3 separate regions of the Homo sapiens genome follow, and all the other regions are linked to region 1. The links are contacts of gene promoters, found by promoter capture Hi-C in human tissues and cell types (Jung and others, 2019). All regions are on one chromosome and are shown on one strand. Each heading gives the region's core, a stretch centred on a gene start or on the middle of the fragment in contact. The rest is flanking DNA. Distances are from core to core; before and after follow the strand shown.

Evidence for each region. The method cuts DNA at HindIII sites, captures the fragments that hold promoters and counts their contacts. A contact is called where the count stands out against the background at its distance.
Region 2: a contact is called between a fragment that was not itself captured here and the fragment with the promoter of CIDEA in region 1, in 1 of the 25 tissues and cell types used here (lymphoblastoid cells).
Region 3: a fragment that was not itself captured here is called in contact with the fragment with the promoter of CIDEA in region 1 in 1 of the 25 tissues and cell types used here (dorsolateral prefrontal cortex).

What each region holds. Positions count from the first base shown.
Region 1 is chr18:12,252,546-12,256,176 of GRCh38, reverse strand. CIDEA (cell death inducing DFFA like effector a) reads right to left here and starts at 1,816. Exons shown (of 5, transcript NM_001279.4): 1 at 1,756-1,816. The coding sequence starts at 1,793. It overlaps LOC105371996 (a long non-coding RNA gene), which reads right to left and starts at 1,164. Exons shown (of 2, transcript XR_935158.3): 1 at 746-1,164; 2 at 1-598. RefSeq lists an enhancer at 2,074-2,680. The HindIII fragment of the contact is 10,266 bases long and covers 460-3,631 here.
Region 2 is chr18:10,444,479-10,448,109 of GRCh38, reverse strand. No RefSeq gene overlaps it. Among named protein-coding and RNA genes, the nearest start is that of APCDD1, 8.3 kb to the left of the region's middle. The HindIII fragment of the contact is 8,236 bases long and covers 1-3,631 here.
Region 3 is chr18:10,775,185-10,778,815 of GRCh38, reverse strand. The region is part of intron 18 of PIEZO2 (piezo type mechanosensitive ion channel component 2); the gene reads left to right. Among named protein-coding and RNA genes, the nearest start is that of MIR6788, 17 kb to the right of the region's middle. The HindIII fragment of the contact is 4,204 bases long and covers 1-3,631 here.

The DNA of each region.
Region 1 (3,631 bases), core at 567-3,066:
AAGGTGTTTTCCCTTCAACAAGAATTACAGATTGTTTTCTTCCAGTTTAGTTTGGTAACAGGTAGATTTCACAGAATGACAGTAGTCCAGCCTGGGAGCAGGTAGATTTCACAGAATGACAGTAGTTCAGCCTGGGAGCAGGTAGATTTCACAGAATGACAGTAGTTCAGCCTGGAAGCAGGTAGATTTCAAAGAACTGCAGCAACAGCTTGTCCATAACAGGTAGAGTCATTCACTCCTGGGATGAGCCAAGCTGGAAGGAATGTGTCCTAGGAGACTCAAGGTTTCCCAATGTTTCATTTGTCAACAGCTCATAAGCAAGTCACTTCCACTTCACACGACCTCACAGAGACCCCACACAGATGCATTTTGGATTTTGGTGAGCTGTTATAATAGTCAGAGGCAGGGACAGGCTCAGCCTGAATCCTGCTCAGAGGCCAACCAGGATTGGTTAGTGCGAGTCAGCCCACACCTCCTTCCCCCATGCTCCGGAGGAACAGTGGGTGTGTTGTGAATTCACTGGAAAAGTGGTTGGAAGGACGCATTCCAAACTGCTAAGACCTCCCCTCCTGGAAGTGGGACTGTGGTGTGGATGGTTCTGGAAGAACGCAAAAGATACAGGGCCCTGACCTTTAGGCCTAAGCGTGTTAATGACCATACACGAAGCAGGTGTTTCTCAGCGTCCCCCTGCCACCGCCCCGACTTGTACTGTGGGCTTATTTTTAAAGAGAAAGATGCTTCTAACCTGCAGTGTCTACAACAGCTCCCATTTAAGAACCCGGGATTGGAAGCTCATAGATTGCGTTTCGTAGCCGGACCGCTCCCTTTCACACATGTAGTCTCTCTGCCCGCCACACGTAGCACACACAGTGGGACCCGGCGCCGCTGAACGCCTGCACCTTCAAGCCCGCAAATGGTTCTCTATCCTTTTCCAGGTACTTGATCTTCAGAGAAACACGATCTCCCTCTTAGACCTTACTTTACAGTTGCTGCCACGCAATGACTTAGGATTTTACCAAGAATTGGCTTGGGTCTGTTGGGATATGAATATTAACCCAAGCAGGAAAATAGCCAATGCTGCCTGTTCGACCACGAGCGGGTGCGAAGCGCAGGGAAGACTCCTCAGGGTCCACCCGCCCCTTGTCCCCCCTGCTCCCCAGGCAGCGTCTCCGCCCTTGGACCCGGAGGCAAGGAGGAGCGCTTCTCCCAGCACCACCAACCTGGAGGGCTCCGCCGGACGGTTGGGGCCTCCCCTCGGAGACCAGAGCCCGCGCTTCCAGGAGGGGCCAAGCCTGGGCCCCTCCCGCGCCCAGCTCCCGTTGTGATTTCCAGGACCCCCAGAAGCCCGGTCCCCTCGCATCGCGGAAGCTTTGCTCGGGGTTCCTGGGACCGGACCCTCTTCTGCGCCCGCGACTGCAGCAGCGGCCAGAGATGCATGCAGCCACTCGCCAGCTGTCACCTGGTTTGCAGACGCCCGCGCACCTCGCAAGAGCCACACCTGGTACCTGTGCCCAGCTGCAAGAGGGTGAGGAGGCGCGGGACGGGATTGGGCTCTGCCCGCGGGCGCGGCTGGACGGCTTGGGCACCAGTGGGGCGGATGGGTGTGTGCGCGGGGTCGCGGAGCGCAAGAGAATGCGGGGAGCAGGGGGCTGAAGGGAGCGGGGTACGGTACTAGAGGCGCACAGGGGAATATGAGGCCACCGAACGCAAGGCGATTGGAAGCGCACGGCAATCAGGGGGACGCGGGGCACTCGCCTGATGAGGGCTCCTGCATAGTCCCGGGCGGCCTCCATGGCGCGGATCCCCTAGCGGGCCTGGAGGTCTGTCTGCCTGCACAGCCTCTTAAAGTGCGGCGGCCCCGCCCCCGCCCGCCTGCCAGCCCCGCGAAGGCCTGACTGGCGCAGGGGAGGACGTTTTGGCACGAGCTCTCCACCGCCGAGGATCGCGACTTCGCGCTCTGGGAGCCCCCGGTCGTCCTGGCTCCCGCAGCCTGGAGCCGCGCGTCCTTCGCTGCCTTGGGCCGTACCGAGGACCTTGGAAGCCCAGATGCTCCCCGGGTCTCTTTTGGTCACTTGCCAGCCTGTTCGTTTTGCACTTCTGGGGGTCGGGGCAGTTGGGGTCATAACCAATCCTGGCAGCATCACTTTGGCCGCGGAAAGACGGGTATGTGGATTTTAAACCCAGGCCACGGGTGGGGCAGGTGAGGAGACGGATGTGAGCGCCACTTGCCTCCAGCTCTGGAGTCCCCCAGAGCCCAGCCCCAGGCTCAGCGAGCCGCTGGTTCCCTGCAGGGATGCGGAAGCTGCCGCAGACACCGGGACCTGCAGCCCTTCAGGTTCTCCGAGGCGCCTGGGCTTCCTGCCCGCTGCGCTGCTCTCAAGGCCATGTCATGAGCATTTGGGGACAGTGAGAAGGGCATGCAGAACGGGAGGGGAAAGGAGCCTTTGGACTGCATGAATTGCCTTTTAGCTGTAGTAAGGGACCCTCGCAGAGTGAGGAGGCAAAGAGTGAACCCCGCTGGGGCTGGGGGACTTCCGTCCACACCCTGCTCTCATGGTTGTTCCCATCGGAAGACGCAATTAGGGCCTCTGAGACCTCCGAGGAAGGCGGGCAGTTACAAGGGGTTCCCAGAACCCCTCACTACAGGACTGAAGAGGTGGGCTCAGTGTTGAGGGGTGGGACTCGGGCAGTAAGAGGTGTAACTTTCTGGGATGGAGGCTTGCTAGGATATCCTCTCGTGCCCAACTGCTGACTGCCGCCTGGAAACAGCGTTTCGGGAGCTGCAGCGGGACCCTCGCCGGCTCCTCCTGAGCCCACCTGGTTTGAGCAGACTGACCTGATCTCTTAAGACCTGACCCTATGCCCGCCCTCTTCCTCCGCTGGCTCTCAGAAAGGGTCACCGTGGTCAACAAGCCTTGTGACTTGCAGGACTGTTGAAGCCAAAGGCAATTGCCTTCCAGAGTCAAGGACTCCGCCTGCTGGGAACACCCAGCTCCAGGCTCACAGGGGGCAGCTTCCCCCAGAGGCACTGAGCGGACACAGCTTTAGGAGGTCATTCACTGCCCCTCCCACTCACAGCCCCAATGTGATGGATGAGAAAATGGGTCCAATCAATTCAGGTCAACTTACCTCTAACCTTTTTATTGTGAAAAAGTTCAAATATAGAGATACATAGAAAGAACAGGGCTGAGGGTACTGGCTTACATCTGTAATCCCAGTACTTTGGGAGGCCAAAACAGGAGGATGGCTTGAAGCCAGGAATTTGAGACCAGCCTGGGTAACACTGTGAGACTACTATCTCTACACAAAAATAACGATAATTAGCCAAGCATGACGGCGAGCACCTGTAGTGCTAGCTACTCAGGAGGCTGAGGAGGGAGGATCACCTGAGCCCAGGAGTTTGAGGTTGCAGTGAGCTGTGATCATGTCACTGCACTCCAATATGGGCAACAGAGTGAGACTTTCTCTCTAAAGAAAGAAAAAAATCTGTTTGTGTGTATATATCTATCTATCTATATATAAGATAGATAGATAGATAGATAGATAGATAGATAGATAGATAGATAAGAGAGAACAGTACAATGAGCACACTTACACCCAGCCCCTGGATTCAACCACTGTTAACATTTTG
Region 2 (3,631 bases), core at 458-2,957, 1.8 Mb after region 1:
GCATGAACTATCTGCTGCTTCTACTCCCAATCCCTGTATTCTTGGAGAGCCTCTAAGTCTGCGTACTCAGCACACGTTGCTCTGCAGTGGCAAGGAAAATTTCTTGAAGCAGGGTCAAGGACACCAACCAAAGTCTGGAGAATTTATAGAACAAAAGATCAACATGGCTATGAGCTCATCCAGAATGAGCTACAGGACAGCAGGTTTAGGCAGGAGTCTCTGGGCATAAGAGGTCAATCAGTTGGCTGATCTTATGTCAGTGGGGACGGCCATACAGCGGTGGGCGCAAAACATCTCCCCCTGTGAGATAGCTGGATGAGCACAGTCTCCATCAGATGTGGTGTCCACAGGGTGCCCCAGAGATGCAGCAGGTGGTAAACTGTAAAGCTGTACTGCTGGCATTTAGACCAGACCTTTGTGCTTTTCTCTTGGAACTCGAGGGTTGAGCAACTCCAAAATCATCAGTAGAAGTAGATGCAAGCAGCACTTAGGTGGAACTCTTCATCTTGCGGAGGTGATGTCCACCCGTGATGGGTGGAAGAGAGCCTTGAGTCTCAGCGGAGGGTTTAGGGCTACGAGGAAACCGAGACCCCTTGAAGTCAGACCTTCTCCTGAGTATGAACTCTTATTTAGATTCCAGGTCTCCTCATCTCATTTTAGGGCCTCTTCCACCTCCACTTCCACTTCCTGTGCTTCAAGGTCATATTTTATCTCTCATAATGGTTAAAAACTTGGAAAGCAAGGGCCTTATGAAACATTATGTGTATTCAATTAATTGTATGCCAGATTCCTGTTAAATGTGTATACCACATCACAAATTCCTTTCTTCATTGCATCAATTCCACCTTTGCTGCTTCTAAAGATATGTTAGGCTTTCCTGTTCTGGTATCCAAGTATTTTCTACTTCACCACAAGCCCCTGGTTTCTAACCATTATACAGTCTTTTAACACAGTAAACTAAGCAATGTCAGTCTTACCTGTGGTACTTGTGGGTGTTGTTTTGTGTTGTGTTGGCCTTGCTCGTCATAGCTGTTTCCTTTGTGCCCCTCTGTGGGATGGCCTTTGTGCTTCCATGAGGGTGAGCCATGGGGAAAACATTCCAGAAGAATCTATTCTTGTTGCAGAGCAGGCCTGGATTGTCTGGGAGAGTGACAGACAAGCAGAGACATCAGAGGCCACATTCCCGTGTGCAATCTGCCATACTTTATAGGTCCTCAAACTGCCTTTCCTGTATTTTAATGCAGAACAAAGTACAGAAAACGTTCTTTGCCACTGCATAGCTGGATGTGCAGAGTATGCTAAGACTAGTGGCCCTCCAAGAATACAGGGAGGGGACGATAAGGGCAGCAGTTGTTCATGCTTTATGGAAAAGAGACGAAGCCATTCCCACCCCAAGCTGAAATTAACTTGGTGCACATTGTCACCAATTCCATGGAAGCCACTGTGGCAGACAGACCTCATGAAAGCAAACACTCTTCAAGGTGGGTCGTCTTGTTATAAAGCCATCTGAAGACGGCTGACCCAGCCTATTGTACTGAATTCAATAGCTTGGGTTTTAAATCTTGACCAATCACCTGCACAAAACTTTGCTTTAAAGACCCTCCCCTACCCCCTCCCACACATTCACCTCCCACTGTGCCAGAAAGAAATCCCTGCCATGGAACCCAAGCATTCATTCATGCAGGTCTGACCCCTGGGGTGTAGAAGATGCTGGAATGGAGGAACTATAAAGTGCTTCCAGTCAGGAGTTACTACAACTACCACCAGAGGACACATCCACCTATGTGTTGTCCAGCTCCAAGACCTAAATCCTCACCTTGGATAATAAGTGATGCTGACAAATATGCTGTATTCTATCTGCTGCTGGCCAGGTTAGCTCCAAGAGATAGGTGGCTGGTTAAGCACGGCTGTGGCCAGAGACTTCTAGAGAAGCAAAAACTGAAATCATCTATTACCAAAATAATTTGAAAACAAAATTATCTCTCTCCAACCAGCCAGAGAATAGGTAGATCTGAGAATAAAGAAGAATAAGGAAAAGAATTGTTGCAGCACAATCCTTGAAGAATGCCGTATACAGAGAGCCAAGCAGTAAGGAGAGAAGCATGTCAGACCTTTTTTTGTTCCACAAAGCTTTACTGAGAACCAAATCTTATTCTTCCTCTTACACATGTATATTTTTGAAAATTAAGATCTCTACAGTGACAAGTCTAGTCACATGTGTGTGGGAACTACTGCCGGCAGATACACTCTTCATTTGAAAACCAGTGGTTTTCTAGAATTTCCCAAGAGAATCTACTGAGTTATCTCTAAGGTCTTGCCAAACACTGGTGATAAGAGTTGAAGGAATCATAATATATTTTCACTTTTTCCATAAGAAGGGAGGCAGCATCACCTGTGGTTAAGAGTACAGGCTTTGGGGTTTGTCGGAACAGGATGAAAATTCTGATTCTATCACTTGCCACTTGTGACTCCTTGTGCAAGCCAGTGGTCCTAAGAGCGATGTGAGTTGCTGCTTAGAGTCTATGGTGGGTTAGGGAAGCGGATGATGGAAAGTACTTAATGCACTGCCTGATTCCTGAATGTGCTTCATCCATGGTCAAGTGGGGTGGCCCAAGGGGCTGCAGCTCCGATTGCCTCCGTTTAAGTCCTCCCACATTCTATGCCACCTATTATGACTATTGCTTGGAACGTGGACATGTGCTTTCCATGTCTACTTTGAGTCACTCATACATTCAATGAATATTTACTTAGCATCCACTGTATTTCAGACACCATGTTCTTAAGTGCACCACTACTTTCATTAGGAAGGAACAGAAGGCTTCCAGACTAGACGAAAGACTCTCAGTGAGAAATACTTCCCAGCTTCTCTCACTCCCAGGTCCCCTGCGCTGTGCTCTGCTTTGCAGGGCTCAACATTCATCTCTTTGGGCTTCTTTTTTCTGCCCTCATCCTCCCAAAAGATACCAGAGTATTCTTATGTCCTCTGTCTTTCTTTCTTAACAGAATAAGAATTGATCTTATAAATGCATTCATGCTAAAATATAAATAATTTGTAAGTTCAAAAGCATTAGCCTTTATCTGGATTTTTGCATTTAAACTGCAAGTGAAGCCCTGAGCCAGAAGAGACCTGGAAAGGTGGAATTCCATGGCACTCACGATGTGTCGCTGTCACCTTTACCACCGGTGAACCACTGACCTGTGTTTCAGAGACCGCCCTCCCCCTCTTGGGGTGTGAGTTTGGAGGGAGTGGTGGAGACTTGGCTTTGCTGTGTTTATCTTGAGCCCTGGGCCAGCCAGATTTCTCTTTCATTTACATTATAGCTGTGGTCGTTTTATTTATTGATTTTAGCCGGGGGTGGGGAATTTGGTAACGTCACTGAGTGTTGTCTTTTGGTTCTGTTCTAACTTGTAAATGTTATCTAGTTCTATTCTGTTTTCCACTTTATGTAATGTAGATCCAGGATCTCAATTATCTGAGCCATTAATCAGGTTGCAAAACCTTTCTCTTTCCCACGTGAAAGCAAAAAGGAAGAGTGGGACTTGTCTACAGATCGCCACCACACCTGTTAGTTGGATTTTTAGGATTGTCTGCTTCTCACATACAGTTCCCTCCCTCACTCTCCCTTTCTTT
Region 3 (3,631 bases), core at 342-2,841, 1.5 Mb after region 1:
TGAATGGGAGCTTATGCCCCTTATCCCAAGCCACAAGGCCAGCTAATTCTCTCAGGACTTCTTAGAAGTATCAAAGTTCAAAGTCACCCCAAATGACCAAAAACTTGCAATATCCCATCTTTACCTTCTTTCCAGTGAAATCTCCTATTTTTGTGTGAATATAAACATGTTAAGAGCAGCCAGAGGCCGGGTGTGGTGGCTCACGCCTGTAATCCCAGCACCTTGGGAAGCCGAGGCAGGTGGATCATGAGGTCAGGAGATCGAGACCATCCTGGCTAACACGGTGAAACCCTGTCTCTACTAAATATACAAAAAATTAGCTGGGTGTGGTGGCGGGCGCCTGTAGTCCCAGCTACTCGGGAGGCTAAGGGAGGAGAATGGCGTGAACCTGGGAGGCAGAGCTTGCAGTGAGCCGGGATGGTGCCACTGCACTCCAGCCTGGGCGACAGAGCGACTCCCTCTCAAAAAAAAAAAAAAAAAGAGCAGCCAGAGCTGTGCCTCAAAGGAAACGTTATCAAACAAGCCTGTCCCTCATTTTATAATGTGTGCTTCTGAAATGCTGTATGCAGTGTTGAGTAGGGCTGATTATCCATTAGAATGACAGGGTGAATCCTTTAATAAAGTATATAAGCTTGCTTTCTCTCATTATTTCTTTATGTTCAGTGTTTTATAAGGAGAATAAAATGTTTATAAATGTTAGTTCTGGGCTGAAAGAGGGGCATACCTACAATTCAACTTAAGAGTTGATTAAAATTTAGACATGACTTTACAAGTTGTAAGGTAGGGTAGTGTATTGAGGACAGTAGGCCACTTTGATAACATTTTAAAAATATAGATAATTGTGGTTAAGTTGCAACTGACCTAGTAAACAGTATACATTTTACCAACACACATAATTAAGATGTAATATTCAATTCACAAACCAAGTGCCTATATGTGAATACAATCTTCTGAGAGTGCTTTTGAGTTCTAGATAATAATTTATCTTAAACAGTAAAATTATTTTACTTTAAATGTTACTTATATTAAACACTACACAGGTGCAAGTCACCTTTCTGCTAATAGTCTAATGATAACAGTGTCAGTGCAGTTTATATTACCACATATTCCAAATTAGAATCATAAAAACAAATGACATTCAGACTAAGGAGATTTTACAATGCTAGAATTTCCATTTTCTTTAATGGAAAGTAGTTTACTATGCAGCTTTTCAAAGTCAGGTTCTTGTACAGAATTAACCCTCTTTGAGCGTCCCTGTCAAGTAATTTGTTTCTTCTGTTTCAAATAAGGATGTATCTCCAGTGCATAAAATTTCTTCACCCAAGATTCAGTGAATTATAGTGCACCCCAGGCACAGTACTACATTTTGTAAGGGTGATGAGTAGAGCAGGACTGGATTCTGTCTTCAAGGGGAAAGTCCCCAGAACCCATACTTAGAATAAAATGACAGAGTCACAAATGGAGAAACACACACATTGGGAGTTGCACAAAGCTGTGGAAGTGTAGAGTGAGTGAAGACACAAACAAATACTTGTCATCTGCTCCGTTAGAACATGAAAGGAGAGAGCCATTTTGCTTAATGGTCAGTGAGAAGGTTAGAGCTCAGAGCCTGAATAAGAGCAAGGAAACAAAGTTATCAGTAATGTTAAAGAAAACCCTAAGAGAAGAAATGCACTTCCTGTGGAGAAAGACATCCAAAGCAGCCTGATTGAAGGCAGTGGAGGAGGGGGCTTCTCCGGGAATCCTGTTCATCATCATGCGTATTATTTGGAGTCCCAAAGTCAAAATCCTGCATATGACCACTAGGTAATTTGCACCTGATATTCAGTAAAGAATTATAAGTCTTATAAGTTCCTTAGCCTGAAGCCTGATGTTCAGTAAAGAATTACAAGTCTTATAAGTTCTTTAGCCTGAAGTTTCCAGGAGTATTTTTACTAGAGTGGGTTTTTAAATTTTGTTTTTGGAAAATCAAGATCCATTTTCTTTTTATTTGCTAGGAAGGAAAAAAAAAGCTGAATTAAAATACACAGGCTTTCCCGGAGAGTCCATACAGCTGTTTCTTCTAGCAACCGCAGCTGGGTCTGCCTCGAAAGCTTGCATTTGTGCAGAACCACCTCTGCCGCTCCCACTCCTCAGGGAATGCAGTAGTTGAGATTACACACAGAAAGCCCAGTAAACAGAACCCTGAGACCATTGGGAAACAGATTCCCGATGAAGAAATGTTTGCTCCTTTTTTTTCTTCTGAATGGCCTTCTATAAAATAGCCAAGTTCTGTTAAAGAAGGCGCTGATGACAGAATCATAGTCTAAGTTTAATACCTTCCGTATCATCCATCATTGTGCAGGCTCTTACAAAAGCATGTTTCTAATTCTGCTTTTTCTTTACAATGAATTTATGATGCAGATTATCAAACCATAATATATGAAAATCTACCATTAGAAGATGGCTCCTTATTTTAAAATGTTTCCTGTGTAATTAACCACTGTGTTAACTGCTTAACAGAAACCACCTTAATTTTTACAACCTCCTATAAATAGGCACTACTGTTTCAGCTAACCGAGACTTAAAAGATAGGTTACATAGCTTTCCCATCTCACCTAGCTAGCAAGTTTTCTGGTGAAGACTTGAACCCAAGTCTTTTAACGTTCTTCTCTATGGCCTCTAAAAACAATGTTACCATAAAAATGAGAAAAAGAGAGAGAGAAAAGTAAAAGGATTCACACAAGTGTCTTTTTGAAACAGTATACTTTATTCATGCATTTAAAATATTTTTATCTATGTTTTATGCACACAGTTTTTTACAATACAAGGTACAATTCTCTGAAATTTCTCAAGATAGTTAATAAACCCCTAGACTAGTAAATGACAGCCTGATACATAATTTCTTTTTTTTTTTCTTTTTTTGTCATCCATTACAAGCTCATGAGGTTAGACTGCTCCAGAGAGGGTCTGGAGTTTGTGGCTCTAAGGTCAGAGGGAATGAGCAGTGTTGGATGCAGAGATGCCCTTCTCATTTGTCCGCAGCTGCATCTTGTCCCATTACAAGTTTCTAGAAATCAGCCTTGTGGACCTACTTCCAAAAGGCTTACTCCAGTGTCTTCCTCTGATTCTTTCATTGAACGATCTCTCCTCAATGCACCCTGCCTGTGGCATGGCAGTTTGGGGGCATCGTTGCTTAAGGACATCTGCTGTGTAGCTGTAGTAGCAGCTGTGGAAACAGCCTCCCCTCTTTGAGTTTCACTCTGTTAATAGCAGTAATTGTTAGAAAGTAGTTTTCTTGTCGTATGAGATTGCAGCAGTGTCAATGTAGACCTTTAAGATTCACTCTGAGGTGGTCCCACCTCACACTGCAACCACCGAATTCCTTGTCTTAATAAAGGTATCTTTTCATTTATAAAATGCATCCCTGAAGAGAACAAATACATACTGACGACTGTGCAGCAGCCGATCACTTCCACATTTAATAACATTTCACATGGAGAGTCCTGACAAAGCAGGAACAGCAAATGTGTTCCCTGAGATTTGGTGTGTGGCACTGGTATAGAAGATATGGGTTGCAATTTTAAGAGTAGCTAACTTCTCCAAAGTCGAGAGGATGAATTGACTAGCTTAGGAAAATAAGGAAGTAGTA